Regions from separate parts of the Homo sapiens genome. Here all the other regions are linked to region 2. Evidence: promoter capture Hi-C in 16 types of primary human blood cells and fetal thymus (Javierre and others, 2016). All regions are on one chromosome and are shown on one strand. Each heading gives the region's core, a stretch centred on a gene start or on the middle of the fragment in contact. The rest is flanking DNA. Distances are from core to core; before and after follow the strand shown.

What was found. Contacts are between HindIII fragments. The CHiCAGO score rates a contact against its expected background, and 5 or more counts as called.
Region 1: a fragment that was not itself captured here is called in contact with the fragment with the promoter of C1orf74 in region 2 in 1 of 17 cell types (monocytes); the score reaches 5.0 in monocytes.
Region 3: a fragment that was not itself captured here is called in contact with the fragment with the promoter of C1orf74 in region 2 in 1 of 17 cell types (neutrophils); the score reaches 9.0 in neutrophils.

Annotation. Positions count from the first base shown.
Region 1 is chr1:209,549,219-209,553,664 of GRCh38, forward strand. No RefSeq gene overlaps it. Among named protein-coding and RNA genes, the nearest start is that of CAMK1G, 32 kb to the right of the region's middle. The HindIII fragment of the contact is 2,999 bases long and covers 917-3,915 here.
Region 2 is chr1:209,782,192-209,786,360 of GRCh38, forward strand. C1orf74 (chromosome 1 open reading frame 74) reads right to left here and starts at 2,368. Exons shown (of 2, transcript NM_152485.4): 1 at 2,187-2,368; 2 at 1-1,518. The coding sequence starts at 1,443. The coding sequence ends at 634. It overlaps IRF6 (interferon regulatory factor 6), which reads right to left. Exons shown (of 9, transcript NM_006147.4): 9 at 3,426-4,169. TRAF3IP3 (TRAF3 interacting protein 3) reads left to right here. Exons shown (of 17, transcript NM_025228.4): 17 at 1-119. RefSeq lists enhancers at 2,073-2,690, 2,247-2,506, 2,691-3,306. The HindIII fragment of the contact is 4,418 bases long and covers 1-4,157 here.
Region 3 is chr1:209,621,005-209,625,420 of GRCh38, forward strand. LAMB3 (laminin subunit beta 3) reads right to left here. Exons shown (of 23, transcript NM_000228.3): 15 at 2,836-2,996; 16 at 2,501-2,721; 17 at 1,978-2,175; 18 at 1,532-1,676. It overlaps MIR4260 (microRNA 4260), which reads right to left and starts at 2,506; the gene lies at 2,440-2,506. The HindIII fragment of the contact is 349 bases long and covers 2,559-2,907 here.

The sequences.
Region 1 (4,446 bases), core at 1,166-3,665, 230 kb before region 2:
GAAAGCTTCCCAGGCATAGAAAATAATAGTAGTAGTAATAATAACAACAGCTTACTAAGTGTATATGATACGGCAGGCTCGGTTCTTAGTGTTTTGCAAGCATGGTTTAGCTTAATCCTTGTAGCAACCCTACTAGGAAGTACATTTTATCCCCCTCTTAAAAAAAAGACCAGGGCCAAGAGGGTTAATAATTTGCCCATATCTGCACAGTCAGCGGCAGAGTCAGAATCTCAGCCTAGGATGTCTGCCTCCAAAGCCCACCCTCCCTCCTACTATTCCTCCTCCAGCAACCCCTTTGATCTCGGTCCCCTCCCATTTCCTATGATCAGATGCTGCCATGTCCCTGGTGTGCCTGTATTCACGTAAATAACCATTTCCTAAATACACTCAATGAAAAATCAATTACATAGCAAAGTGGCTGAGGTTTGGATAAACAATCTAATTGTTCCCTCTGGGGCTGCAGGCTGAGCAGTCCCTGCTGAGAGAAGAAAGAGCGTTAACATTTATTAAGAGCTCCGCCTCAGGCACCGATATGTTTTCTTCCTCCTTGACCACTAGGGGTCTGAGCCCATTGGCCAAGCCCCCTACAGAATCCCAGGGAAGCTGCTGGTCTCATACCACTGGTAGAAGGTGAGAATTCTGTGTTCAAAGTACACCTCTAACCCAGGTAGACTTGAGACTTTGACCCCCAATAGTGCCTTTCAGATGCCTTACTCAAAGATAAACTCCTGGCTGCCTTCCTCTGATGGATTTGAGGATAGTCTCTCCAGAAGGGCCACCCTGTTTACACCCTGACTTGCCCCTCACAGTTCTGTTCCCTTCTACTCAAAATGTTGCAATTAGACGTCCCTTATTTTGAGTCAGGACACTGTCCCTGGTTGATATGCAAAGATCCCAGGAAGATGTATTCCATCAAAGCTTATCAATCATTAACACCTTGCTGTGAATTGGTTTTCAGGACTTTTCAACCAGACAGGTAATTAAAATTGAGCAATTGGCTAGAGAAGATGGAAAGTTCAAGTTTACATAGGGCACAGTAGGGGAAGGCTGAAGAACAGCAAAGTGGCCTCTGGCAAGTGAAGTCCTAAAATGAAGGTATGGTACTTCAAAAGCCTGAGTCGGAGTGGGGCTTATTTCCCCATCTTCCCTTCCAGCCCCCTCTTCCCCACCTTAGTTATTAAAGTCAGTCGTTTGTGGTGGGTCAGCTGGTGATGCTCAAAAAAATAAGATCTAGTTCCAAACCTGTGACTCCCAAATAATTACAACAGCAGGCAATGTGGCCTGTAGGAAGACAAAAGCACATCTACCAGTTCTGGAGTAAAGCGATCCAAGGTGTGACCATCCAACCATGGAAGTCATGGGATAACTGAAAGAACACCAAGCAAGGAGTCAAAAGACAAAGATTCTAATGCTGGTTCTGTCACATGTGTATTTGCTGCATGACATTGCCTAAGTTCCTTCCCCTCTCTGGGCCTTGGTTTACTCACCCATTGACTCAGTTATTCATTCAACTTTGTGCCAGCCTTGTGCCATGCCCTGGGGATGAATATAGTGATTAACAGATACCTTTCCTGTTCATATAAAGTTTTCAATCTAATATGAGAAATAAACGTGCAAGCAATAATTTCACAGATAATTGCCCTATAAGATGATGAAGTTGGTCTAGATCAGGGGCTTTCAACTCTGGCTATAGATTAGGACCAACTAGGGGCTTTTAGAAAAAAAAAAAAAAAGATGACTATCTGGGCATTATCTCCAAAGATGATTATTAAATTTGGTAGGGTTCAGGCATAGATATTTTTCTAATTTCCCCAGTGATTGTGGGGAACCAAGGCTGACAGCCACTGTGCAACCAGGGTTGAGAGCCACCAAGGTAGACAATATTTAGCATTTCCTCCTGCTATAACTTTTTATTTGTCTCTTATATTCTATGAGTAACCTAAGATACATATTCTCTTATATTCCATGTCTTATATTATATTCATATGTCTTATATTCTATGAGTAACCTAAGATACATATGTCTACACTGAACCCCAGAATGTAACTATCCTCTGGGGATGTCCTCTGGCTTCGTGTTCTCTGGCTTCATGTTCCGGCCCACAGGCTGGTACCTTGCTCCCTTAGAGAGACTGCCTGTGAGGGCTACCCTTCTGCCTGTCTCCAGAGTGTTCCAAATGTCAGCCACTCCCCAGGCCATCCCATCTGTGGGGCCACATCTCTGTGGCCACTCTCCTCATGCCAGTAGGCTCTGGATTCATGCTGGAACTTCTGGGCCCCTTAGACATGGGTTGAGCTCACTTGTTCAGAGAGCTCCATGCATCAGAATAAGAGGAGGAACTGACAGCCTAGCCTGTCCCTATAGATGCCCTGTGGCAAGACTCATTTCAGATCCCAAGACTTCTCTCATCCCTCCCTCCTGCCAGGGCTGGGATGAGGGGAAAACAGGAGGAACACCTAGGAGGTGCCCACCCTCAGGGTCGGGCAAGCCCAGATCAGCACCCAGAGAGGGGGTGCCTTCTTATATTTTGCACCCTGGTCCCCTCACTCACCTCATCCCTGTCCCAGTGCTGCCTCCTGCCCCAGGTTGCCATAAATATTGCAGGTCCCTATGAAAGACTAAAGTAGGACACTGTCAACCCCAAGGGCTCCATGAAGTTATTCTGTCACTCAGCCAGTATTTATTGTGTATCTCTAGGTTATAAACGCAAAGCAGACAGAGTTCCTGGCTGTCAGGAACTCACAGCATAATGGGGAAGGAAAACCTATAAGCAAGAAATAACACAAGACTGGCCAGACCAAGTCCTATAACAGAGTAACATGTGGAAGGCAGTGGAGGTTGGGATTCCTTACAAAGAGAGATGGTACGGAAGCCTTCAAGGAGAAGGCACAAGTTGACTATCCCTTATCCAAAATGCTTGGGACCAGAAGTGTTTTGGATTTTGTATTTATTCAGATTTGGGAATATTTGCATATACATAATGAGATATCTTGGGGATAGGACTCAAGTCTAAACATGAAATTCATTTATATTTCACATATATCTTATACACATAGCCTGAAGGTAATTTTATACAGTATTCTTAAATAATTTTGTTCATGAAACAAAGTTTTGGTTGTGTTTTGACTGTGACCCATCACACGAGGTCAGGCGTGGAATTTTCCACATGTGGCACCATATCGGTGCTCAAAACATTTCAGATTTTGAAATATTTTGGATTTTGAATTTTCAGATTAGGGATGTGCAACCTGTAGTAGGTTTACCTGGGACTTGGAACTAGGGAGAGAAAACAGAAAGCTGATAGCAGGCAGAAAACAGCATGAGTCAAGGTGTGGTGTGTTCTGAGGCTAGCAGATGGCTGGGCATCATTAGAGGGTGAGAGACTTGGAAAGAATGATGGGAGATGAGGTCACAGAGGAAGAAGACCAGATTTTAGAGAGCCTTGAATACCCTGTGGAGGAGTGCTGGGCTTTGATCTATGGTACACGGTGCATCTTGGAAGATTTTGAGGCAGAGGAGGAAGGTAATCAGATTTAGCATCACAAATAAAGAATTACATGTTGGGGGAAGTGGACAAGATCAGCAATGGGAAAAGCAATTGGGAGACCATTTTAACAACAGCTGGCAAGTAACGGCTGATTTTCTAAGTCAGGTGCATCAAATGCCAGAGGCTGTTATACTGTGGGCTGGAAAAGTGGACAGCACCAGGAAGCCAGCCCAGACAGGCACCCTATCATTCCACAAGCATCTGCCAAAGTGCTGGCTTCCGCAGAAAGAAAACCTAAAATCACTGGCTCAGATGTTCTCTGGGATGGCAGCCTGCAGAGACAATTGTTAGAAATGACATGCAAAACAGTCTCCATGGGTGTTGTGGCCCACATCCTGGGGTACCCTCAAGCTACCGCTGCTTTGACAAGCTTCTGTCGGGAAGAAAATCTCTTCTCTTCATCCCAGGAAGAAAAGCACCTGCCTGTTAGGTAGTTCTTCAGGTTGGGGATTAAAGGGCCCTGCTCTATCAGAGCCCCTAAAGAGGAATGTCCAAATCACTTTGAAAACTCCCTTCCTGCCCTATTCATCTGTGGCTTGAGGATTCCATGAGTATAAGATGCAGACACTGGAAACTTTAACTCTCCTAGAGTTCCCTGCTGAAATAAATCCCAGGTGTCTGTAATGAAAGTACTCATTTTGATGGTTCACTTTTCTCGATCCACACTGAGAACACCAAGCCCTGGCCACGGTCATCTCTCACCAGGCCCCTGCCTGCTACAGCCTCTGACTCATCTTCCCTGTTTTCAGTGTTGCTCTCGTTCCTCGTCCCTTTTTCCATGAATAAAGTAAGAATATGGTTTCTGAAGCACATCAGTCTGATCTGATCACATCCCTGCCTGAAATCCTTCCTGCTGCCTTCAGGATACAGTCAGGCTCCTGTGAAGGGCTCACTGGGAC
Region 2 (4,169 bases), core at 1,118-3,617:
ACTCAGCGAAAAACTCAGAAGGTTTGGGTACATTACAGCTTGGGTTTTCCAACTGACTTAGGATTTCTGACTTTTTATTAATTTCTTAACCTACTGTAAATAAACTTCACCTGACCAGATTGTTCCTCAGAACTCTCAGTTTATTCCTGAATGGTGTATTACATTAACAAGTATCACATATTTAAGCATACTGGTGGTCTACTCTCCTCAAATTCAGTTGGAGGCATATAAACATGCAGAAAAGCCCCCAGCCCTACTTTCCTAGCATGCAGCACCCACATAGAGCAGGTATATTTACAAGGTTACCATGCAAGAGTGTTTGGCTTGTCTTCCATCACCCTGCTTTTCCTCTATCATCTCCTTCCTTCTATCTTTTATCCAGTGAAAATGAAAACATCTCCACTAAGAGGACTTCCTAGTATAGAAATGGCAAGTATGTACTATCTACCAATTTGCTACTAGCACCACCATTACCTATTTACATGCCCTTTGCATTTGTGGCCAACTGATCTACAGCATTGTGCCTTAGTGTATTCAAGACACTTGGAATTGGCAGTTGAGATGATTATTTGCCATCCCCAACCTAGAGATGATCATTTACTGAGTACCTTCTATATGGGAGGAGAGTTAAAGTCAGAGGGCCACAGCCGGCAGTGTGACTATCTCAGAGGAGATGCTGAGATCAGCAAAGTCATTCTGAGTCCTAAATCGGGTTCTGAGGTCCTTCTCCCAGGTGTTTAGAATGTCCCTCAGGCCTGGGAACAAACTCTCTGGGACACTAAAAGAATAGAGCAGGATTGGGGGTTGACCTAGCAACCATGAGATCCGGGCAGTGAATACTCGTAGTGGAGTCAGAGCTAAGCAGTTGTCATCTCCCTGGTTCAGGTGAAAGGTATAGGGAACAGGATAGCCCAGGAGGATCCCAAATACAGTACACAGATTCCAGTCTGAGGAATGGAGCCTGCTGTAGGAGACTGCTAGAGATAAGTCCCTCTGCAGCCCCTGCAAATGTGTGATGATCTCAGCCACGAGGGCCTTCAAGTCCTGAAGCTGGTCCAGGGAGCAGACAGAAGGGTGACGCTGGCAGCTGGAAACATCCACAAAGGCTATGGTACCAAGCAGCACCTGCTCCAAGTGCTGACATACATGCTCAGGACTGACAATCAGGCTGTTTTCTCCAATCTCAAGGATGTGAAGTCCAAAAGTCAGGAAGCCAAGCCCCTTCAGCTCCTCCAGATAGCTCTGGAGCTCTGATGCCCCTGCACAGTTGCAATCATAGAGCACAGCTGGCTTCAGTCCCCGGGCCACAGCCAGCACCTCTCCAGCTAAGTGAAGGCAGATGGCTTGGGGTGGACTCCGTCTCTTTCCCATGCCAAGGGTCTGCTGAGCAGCTGCCACCAGCAGCTGAGGGCTCGGTGATGACATGAGATCTAGAAGCAACATCAAGAATGGCCTCCTTAGCTAGCCCGAGTTCCCTTCCCTGGGTGGCATCTTTCAGCCAGACACTTGAGGAGGGGCCTAGAAACAAAGCAGGAGCAGGGAATTATTAACAGCCTTCCTGTTAAATCGCGGTATCTTCCAAAGGTTATTCTGTCCCTCCCTGCTTTGAAATGGCGACCCAGCCCAGACAAGATAGTTTCACCGATGCTGCTTGATTTTTCTGGTTGACTTGGTCTCCCTCAATCATAAATTCGTGTGTTTTTCTAGCCTTATAGCTAGATTTATATTCCCTCTGGCTTTTATTCTAAATTTCACCTGTTGCAAATTACGTTCTCTGGTTCAAACCGTAGGGAATTTGGGGCAGAGGCGGAGGCGGGGCAGTGTTTGGCAAAATTCACAGCATTTCGCCCAAAAGCCCTTCTGGGACAGAGCTCCAAGTTCCAAATGTATCCTTTCCACTGACAACTCCCCTACTCTTCCCGCCAGAGAATAGTTATAAGAATAGTAATTTGATTAATATACACCAGAATGTGGACTAACAACCATCTCACCCTGACACATAAAAATGAATGAATGAAATCCACTAGAACTGCAGAAGGGTAGTATTTTAACTTCTGCTGGCCCCGCCTTCCCTTTCTGTCCGACATCAAGGACCCTCGGAAGATGAGATTTCTCCGATCCACACACCCCACACCAGAGCATGTTATAGTGATTTGCTAAATGAGGCATAAGTCTGTCTCACATACGTTCTTTTTCCACGTCCGCTACAGGTTCGGGGGCTCAGAAACTTTTTGCGGCTTCCTGCCTGCTGCCAGAAAGGCAGCTAGTCCCCCACGCCCAGCCGCAAGTAACACTGGAAAACCCGCCTGCGCTGGGAAGACCCTCGCAGCCCGCTCTGCTCCAGTCCCGCAGGCACCTTCTTGCGCATGCGCACCCACTCGAGTGCCGCCCTCTTTCCCCCCATTCCGTGACGTCATCCAGCCGCTCGCGCGCCTCGCGTTAGAATCACTAGCTAGGCAGCCTTACTGCGCGCCGGAAGTTTGGGCCACCGTGCGGCCCGCCCTTTCCGGCCAGACTGAACGCGGCCCCATCTGTCGGCTTAGGAACTGGGAAGGGCGGAAGTAAACGAGAAAAGGCGGAACCTGGTGAAACTGGTTTCCCGCTGCTGCCCTCATTTTGCTTCGCCGAACGTCCTCCCTGTGTTATGACGTCTGGTGTCCCACTTGACTGGGAATCCAGAAACAGGGCACACAGCAGTTAATAAACACCTTTGATTTGTGTCTGTGGAAATACGTTTTGTCCAGACGAAACATACCTCAAGACAACATATTTTGCAGAATAGCCTCACCTGTGGGTGGTGCTGAAACGTTTTAATTTTTTTTAACTTGACTTCCCTAAATCCTACATTTGAGAGGCCTACAACAGCTCTCTAGGGAGGGTGTGAAGGTGTGAGTATTCACTTTGAACAAATATGTGCCAGTCATGCTGCTAGGCCCTGGAGGTACTGCAGTGAGCAAAACAGACAAAACCCCCACTTTCATGGGGCTTAAGTTCATGTCTACTGAATCCAGTTTGCTGATTTCAAATAAGAAATGAGAAGTGATGACACAGAGGCTTTCCAGTCAGGTCATTACAAAGAAAAAGTGTTATTTCACGTAAGAGTTAACACCTTTTTAACTACCAGCGATTTGACCCATGCCACGAAGGGAAAGGATTTCTTGAGAAAACCCCAATATCTAAGGAAATGGCCCCAATTTATTTATACTTGGAGCAGGACAGAGATTAAGGGAACAGTGGACACCTACACTGGAGTTGTCACTCCTGGATCTATCTTGGTGGTGCCTTCAGTCCATGAAAAGTGAATTGTACAGTAAAGATGGGGTCAGCATGGGAGGAGGACCAGCTTATAGGAGTTACCAGCCTAAGGCTGTCTGGTTCTTAGCTCAGAGGGAATCAGAAGCTGAGAGTAGAAAGTAGTCTTCTAATTTTAGAACGTTTTCCTTCCCCGCATTTATTTAATTTTCCCATGGTGGTTAACAGTAAATCCCTAAAAGACTGATTTAGTTCATTCATTTATTCCAGCAACAAATATTTGAGAACACACTGTGTCCCAGACACTGTTCTAAGGACTGGCAGCGAAGTCCAAGACAAACAGTCCCTACCTTCAGCAAGTTTGCAGTCAAGCAGGATGCGGATGCTGAGCATTACAAGGGAAATGATTATTCTGAGAGAGGAAGTATGGGGTGCTATGGGAACATACAACCAGGGACCTAATTTTATGGGAAAGGGACCAGCCCAGATCCAACACTTGCTCTCCCAGTTTACCTCCAGTAGGTTCTTTTTAACTTGAACTAATCTTGTTTGGTGGGGTACACAGTGAGGAAAAAGAAGAGCTAGTGACAAAATCTAACTCCCTTCTCAGTCTTAAGCAAGGTGAAGGCAAGGGAGTAGAAGATATCAAGGGAGTGAGTGGTGGTAGCCACCAAAGGAGATAGCAGACTGAGGCCCTAAAAAAAGAAAGGAAATCTAAATCTATCCAGCAGGACCAGAGAAAGAGTGCTGAGGGTGATTAGATGGAATCCCTGCATGTACTCTCCCGGCATTCTGAAAAGAAGCCAAAACAAGGAAGAAACCGGGGTATCTAGTTAAGACCTCACAAATCACTCATCCATTCCTCTGACATGTTCATAAACTTTTTATAGTGGTTACGAACCAAAAGCTTGGCATTT
Region 3 (4,416 bases), core at 1,483-3,982, 160 kb before region 2:
CTCTCAGGCCCTGCTTTTTCTCTCTGACCCTGGACTCATCATAAGACTTGACCTGAGATACAAGTATAAGAGAGAGGACAAAAGGGGCCTGGCAGCTCCCTGTCTGTTCACATGAGCCTCAGCTGCACCCGGCAGGAGAGAATTCCAACTCACCTCCCACCCACTGAGGCCAGAGCCCTGGCTGAGATTAATGCAGGATGAGTGGCCATTCAGCCTCACTGGACTTGACTCAGGGGCAAGAATCCCTTATCCATGAGCCTAAGCCCCACACCTTGACCTCCCCCATCATCCACGTTTGTGGGGCACAATCTCCCTACATCCCCAGGTAATATTTTCCCCAGGTGAGTGCCTCAAGGCCTTATGCAAGTCATGAGACCTCAGAAGAACTTTCCTGCCCCTCTCTGACCTGCCACCTGCACTCAGGAGGGGACTTCGGCCTATCTGGGGCAAAAACACTGTAATAGTAGCAAGAGGAGCCACTGTCATTACACCAAGCCCTGGGCTCGTATTAACTGGGCTCCCAGCCAAGCAAATAACCTGGCAGGAACCAGAAATCTAACAATATCAACTCTTGTTCCTGAGGCACTTTTCCTTTTTCAAAACACATTTTACATCAGTTATTTGATCCTCAGAATAAACTTGTGAAATACTACCGTCCCCATTTATAGAAGCAAAAGATGAGGCAAAGAGAAAAGCAGCCTGCCCAATGTCACACGAGTCTCCCGGGTCCTGTTTAGGGATCTTTCCATTGTACAGCCCTTCCTCACTCCCCAGAGCAGTGAGGAAGGGTGTCTGGTTCATTTATTCATGCCACCAATGTCAGATGTCTTTCTGTGTCTGGCCTTATGTTAGGTGCTGGTGACACAGTAGTCAACAAGACAGACAACCATCCTTGCCCTCCTGGAGTCCCCATTCTAGTGGAGTGACAATCCACTTGTTGACAACTGAATGAGGGTGAGTAGTGCAAGGAAAGTAAGATGATGGGGGACAAACAGATCGGATGGTCAGGAAACACCTCTCTGGGGAGATGACCCAGAGGACAAGAAGCAGCAGCCCTGGAAAGAGGACTTCAGGCAGACAAAGAGCAAATAAACATCCCTGAAGCAGGCAAGAGCCTGACATGTTCAAGGACAGCCAGTGAACAAAGCAGAGAAGAGCCCAAGGTCACTCCCAAGAGATGGACAGAGGCCAGGCTCTGTAGCCACGATGGGAGTTGAGAGCTCATTCCAAGAACAAGGTGAAGCCACTGAAGGATTTTAAGCAGGAGTGAGATGTGATCTGACTTATGCATTTTAAAAGAGATATTTCAGCTGTTGTGTTGAGAATGAGAATGGGTCACAAGGGATTGGAGTGGGTGGGGAGGGCAGACGGGAGAACGAGAAGGTCATGGCCATGGTGCCAAGGAGAAGTGGAGGCCTGGATGTTGCAGGCCTGGGACTAGGGAGGGAGGGCTGGCTGATGCACTGAACATGGGAATGCGGGACAGGCAGGACTGGAACAGCAGCCAAGGTGGGGTGGAGACTGGGCTCACCTGTTAGGAAGTCCCGGACCTGCTGGATTAGGAGCCGTGTGCGTCTGACATCTTCCTCCATCTGGGAGCGGCTGGCGCTCACCTGGGTCTCCAAGCGCTGGGCACTGGATTGAATCTGTGAGGCAGATTCCTCGGCTGCCCTAATCTGTTGACATACACTCTAGGTCAGAAGGGGTAAGGCCCCAAGGGAACCTCTCAGCAGCCCCACGATTCTGCGGATCATCCTCTATGCCAAGACCTACCTAGGAAGCATTTGTAACCAACCCAGCTTACATGTGGATGTTCAGTAAAAGAGAAAAAAAACTATCTTGCACTTGCTGTGGCACCTTAAGCAGGTCACCTAAAATCTCTGGACTTTAGTGTAAAATGGGAACTCTGACTTGCCCGGGGGATCTATCCTGTCTGCCTCCTCCTACCTGTGCCCACCCCGCCTCGGCTGCACTTACCATCTGCCTGGTCCGCTGGAGCTGGGCATTGAAGCCCCGCAGCTGCTCAGCCACCTGCCCCGCCATCAAGAAGGCCCCACCGGCCCTGGGAAGGACACCCCTGCAGCGGGAGCCACAGGCTGTGCCATTGTCTTGGGGACATAGCTCACCAGGGCATGATATTGGGGTGCAAGCCATCTGCCTGGAGTTGCCACAGAGCTGTGGACAGATGGCGGTGTTAAAGAGGCTACCCAAAGCCCCTCAATAACCAATCCCACCCCACACCTGGGAAACCAACAGCCAGACATCTCCATGACAACCAAGCACCAGAAACAGCCAGACATCTCCATGAGAGCTAAGGACCAGAAACTGGTTTCCTTGGCAACCACTGAGCTCACAGTGAGCAGTACAAGGGTCGGGATGGCTGGGGGAGTGGGGTTCTCACAGGGGCAGATCTGCCCTAATAGGAAGCAGGTGGCAGCAGTTGGTGTGTGACAAGCTGGGGTGTGGGCTCCAGGAAGTGGGACTCCATGCCCCAAGTCACCTTGTTGAAGGTGGGTGTCAGGTCAGGCAACGAAGACATCTCCAGCCTCAGGGCCACAAGCTTGGGGCTGCCGGTGCCTCCTCCTCCTCCCGCCTGCCGCACCAGCCTCTCTGCCTCTCTCCGGCTGTCCCTGAGCTGGTCCAAAAGGCGCGAGCTGTCGGAGACCTGCTGAGCAGCCTGGGCTGACTGCTCGTAGGCTGTGCTCAGCATCCGGAAGGCTCCTGTGGCGAGAAGCATGAGGAATGGAGATGGAGGAGGAGCAGGAGGGAGAGGGGGTGGCATGCCCACCACGGCAGTGCCCATGCCCGGGGTTATCCGGGTGCCCCTCTCCTCACCTGAAGGATCAGCACTGCTTATTTTTTCAAACTGCTCCCTCTTCCTCTGATACATAGTAAGGAGACCATTGAAGCTTCTGTCAAGACTCTCCAGGTCTCTCGGAAGGGACAACGTCTCCTCCTCCAGGGGCAGATCCAGCTGCAGGCCCTGGAGAGTTCGCCTGAGAAGGGAGAGGAGCTTACACTAAAATATAGGAGGGAGTTTTGCCTCCCCAAAGCAGCTATCCCCTCAGAGCAACTGCTACTGAGTCAGAACAAACAGAGACCTTGGGCAAAGGCAACAGAACAGAGAATCCACAGGCTAAGGGGGTTCCGCTGGACAGAGGCTTGGCGACCAGCACAATCTTTCTCTGTCCAGGTGCAGATGGAGCCACAAAACTCTCCTCCCTTGACTTCTATGACCCAACATTCCCAATTCTCCTCCCCCTCTTCCAGATCCTGGCTTCCATGAGGAGCAATGCCCTGATGCCCTCCTCCTTCGCTCTCTATGGGCTGGCTTCAGCTACCATCTGTACAGCTGCAGCTCCAAAATCTCTTCCACAGTCCACACCTCCCACTCAGCTCCAGATCCCATCACTGCTGCCAGCTGGTCATCCCCCCGAAGGAGGCTCAGAGTCTACCTCCCAGGCCCTTGGCCACTGAGCTCTTGGAGAGTCCTCTCTCCCTGTGCCCTTTGCAGCTCCACCAACCCAACCACCAGCTCCCTCCTCCAAGCCTCACATTCTCCACCTCCAGGCTTTGATCAGGCACAGAACGCCCTTCCATGGAATGCCCCTCCATGCCTGTGTTTCCAACCTACTGAATCTGGTGGACTGACTGCCCGAATCTGAGACTTAGGTCAGAAGGCACCTCTGTGAAGCCTGCCATGACACATTATAACATGCGTCACATTATAGTTTACCATTTACACATCATTCTCCCCAGTGCGAGCTTCTTGAGCGCAAAGATTATGTCATACTAATTTCAATATCCCCAATGCCTGTACAATGCTTGTTTCATCATAGATGCTCTAAAATTATGTAAAGAGAAAGAAAGAGAGAGAGGAAGGAAGGAAGGAAGGAAGGAAGGAAGGAAGGAAGGAAGGAAGGAAGGAAGGAAAAAAAGGGAAGGAAGGAAGGAAGGAAAAAAGAAGGAAAAGAAGGAAGGAAGGAAGGTAGGTTGGTTTTCAATATTCGCTTGAGTTCCTCTCCCGGAGCCCCCAGCCAGAAGCTCTAGCACATCGTGAGTCACGGAGCCTCCATTTTCATTCTTCTCAGGCTGCCTTTTCCTTCCCCACCACTCACACACCTGGATGGCTCTGTGCACAGTCAGAAAGCCAGTGCTCAGGGAATGCAAACTAATTATAGAAGCTTCCAGAACTGAACCTCACTAAGAAGGCACCTCTGCTGGTGGGATGGGGGTGTGGGCGGGACCAACTTCCATTCCAAAGCCACACGTGAGTTATTTTTAGAGCCCCTGCCTCTCGGATGCCCTCCGCCAGGGTGACTAATCCAGAGCTGACTCTCTCCCACAGGCAGCACTGGGCACTTAAAAGAACGCTGGGCTTGGGCTCCTGGACTGTGTTCTGAGGCCCAGCTCTGC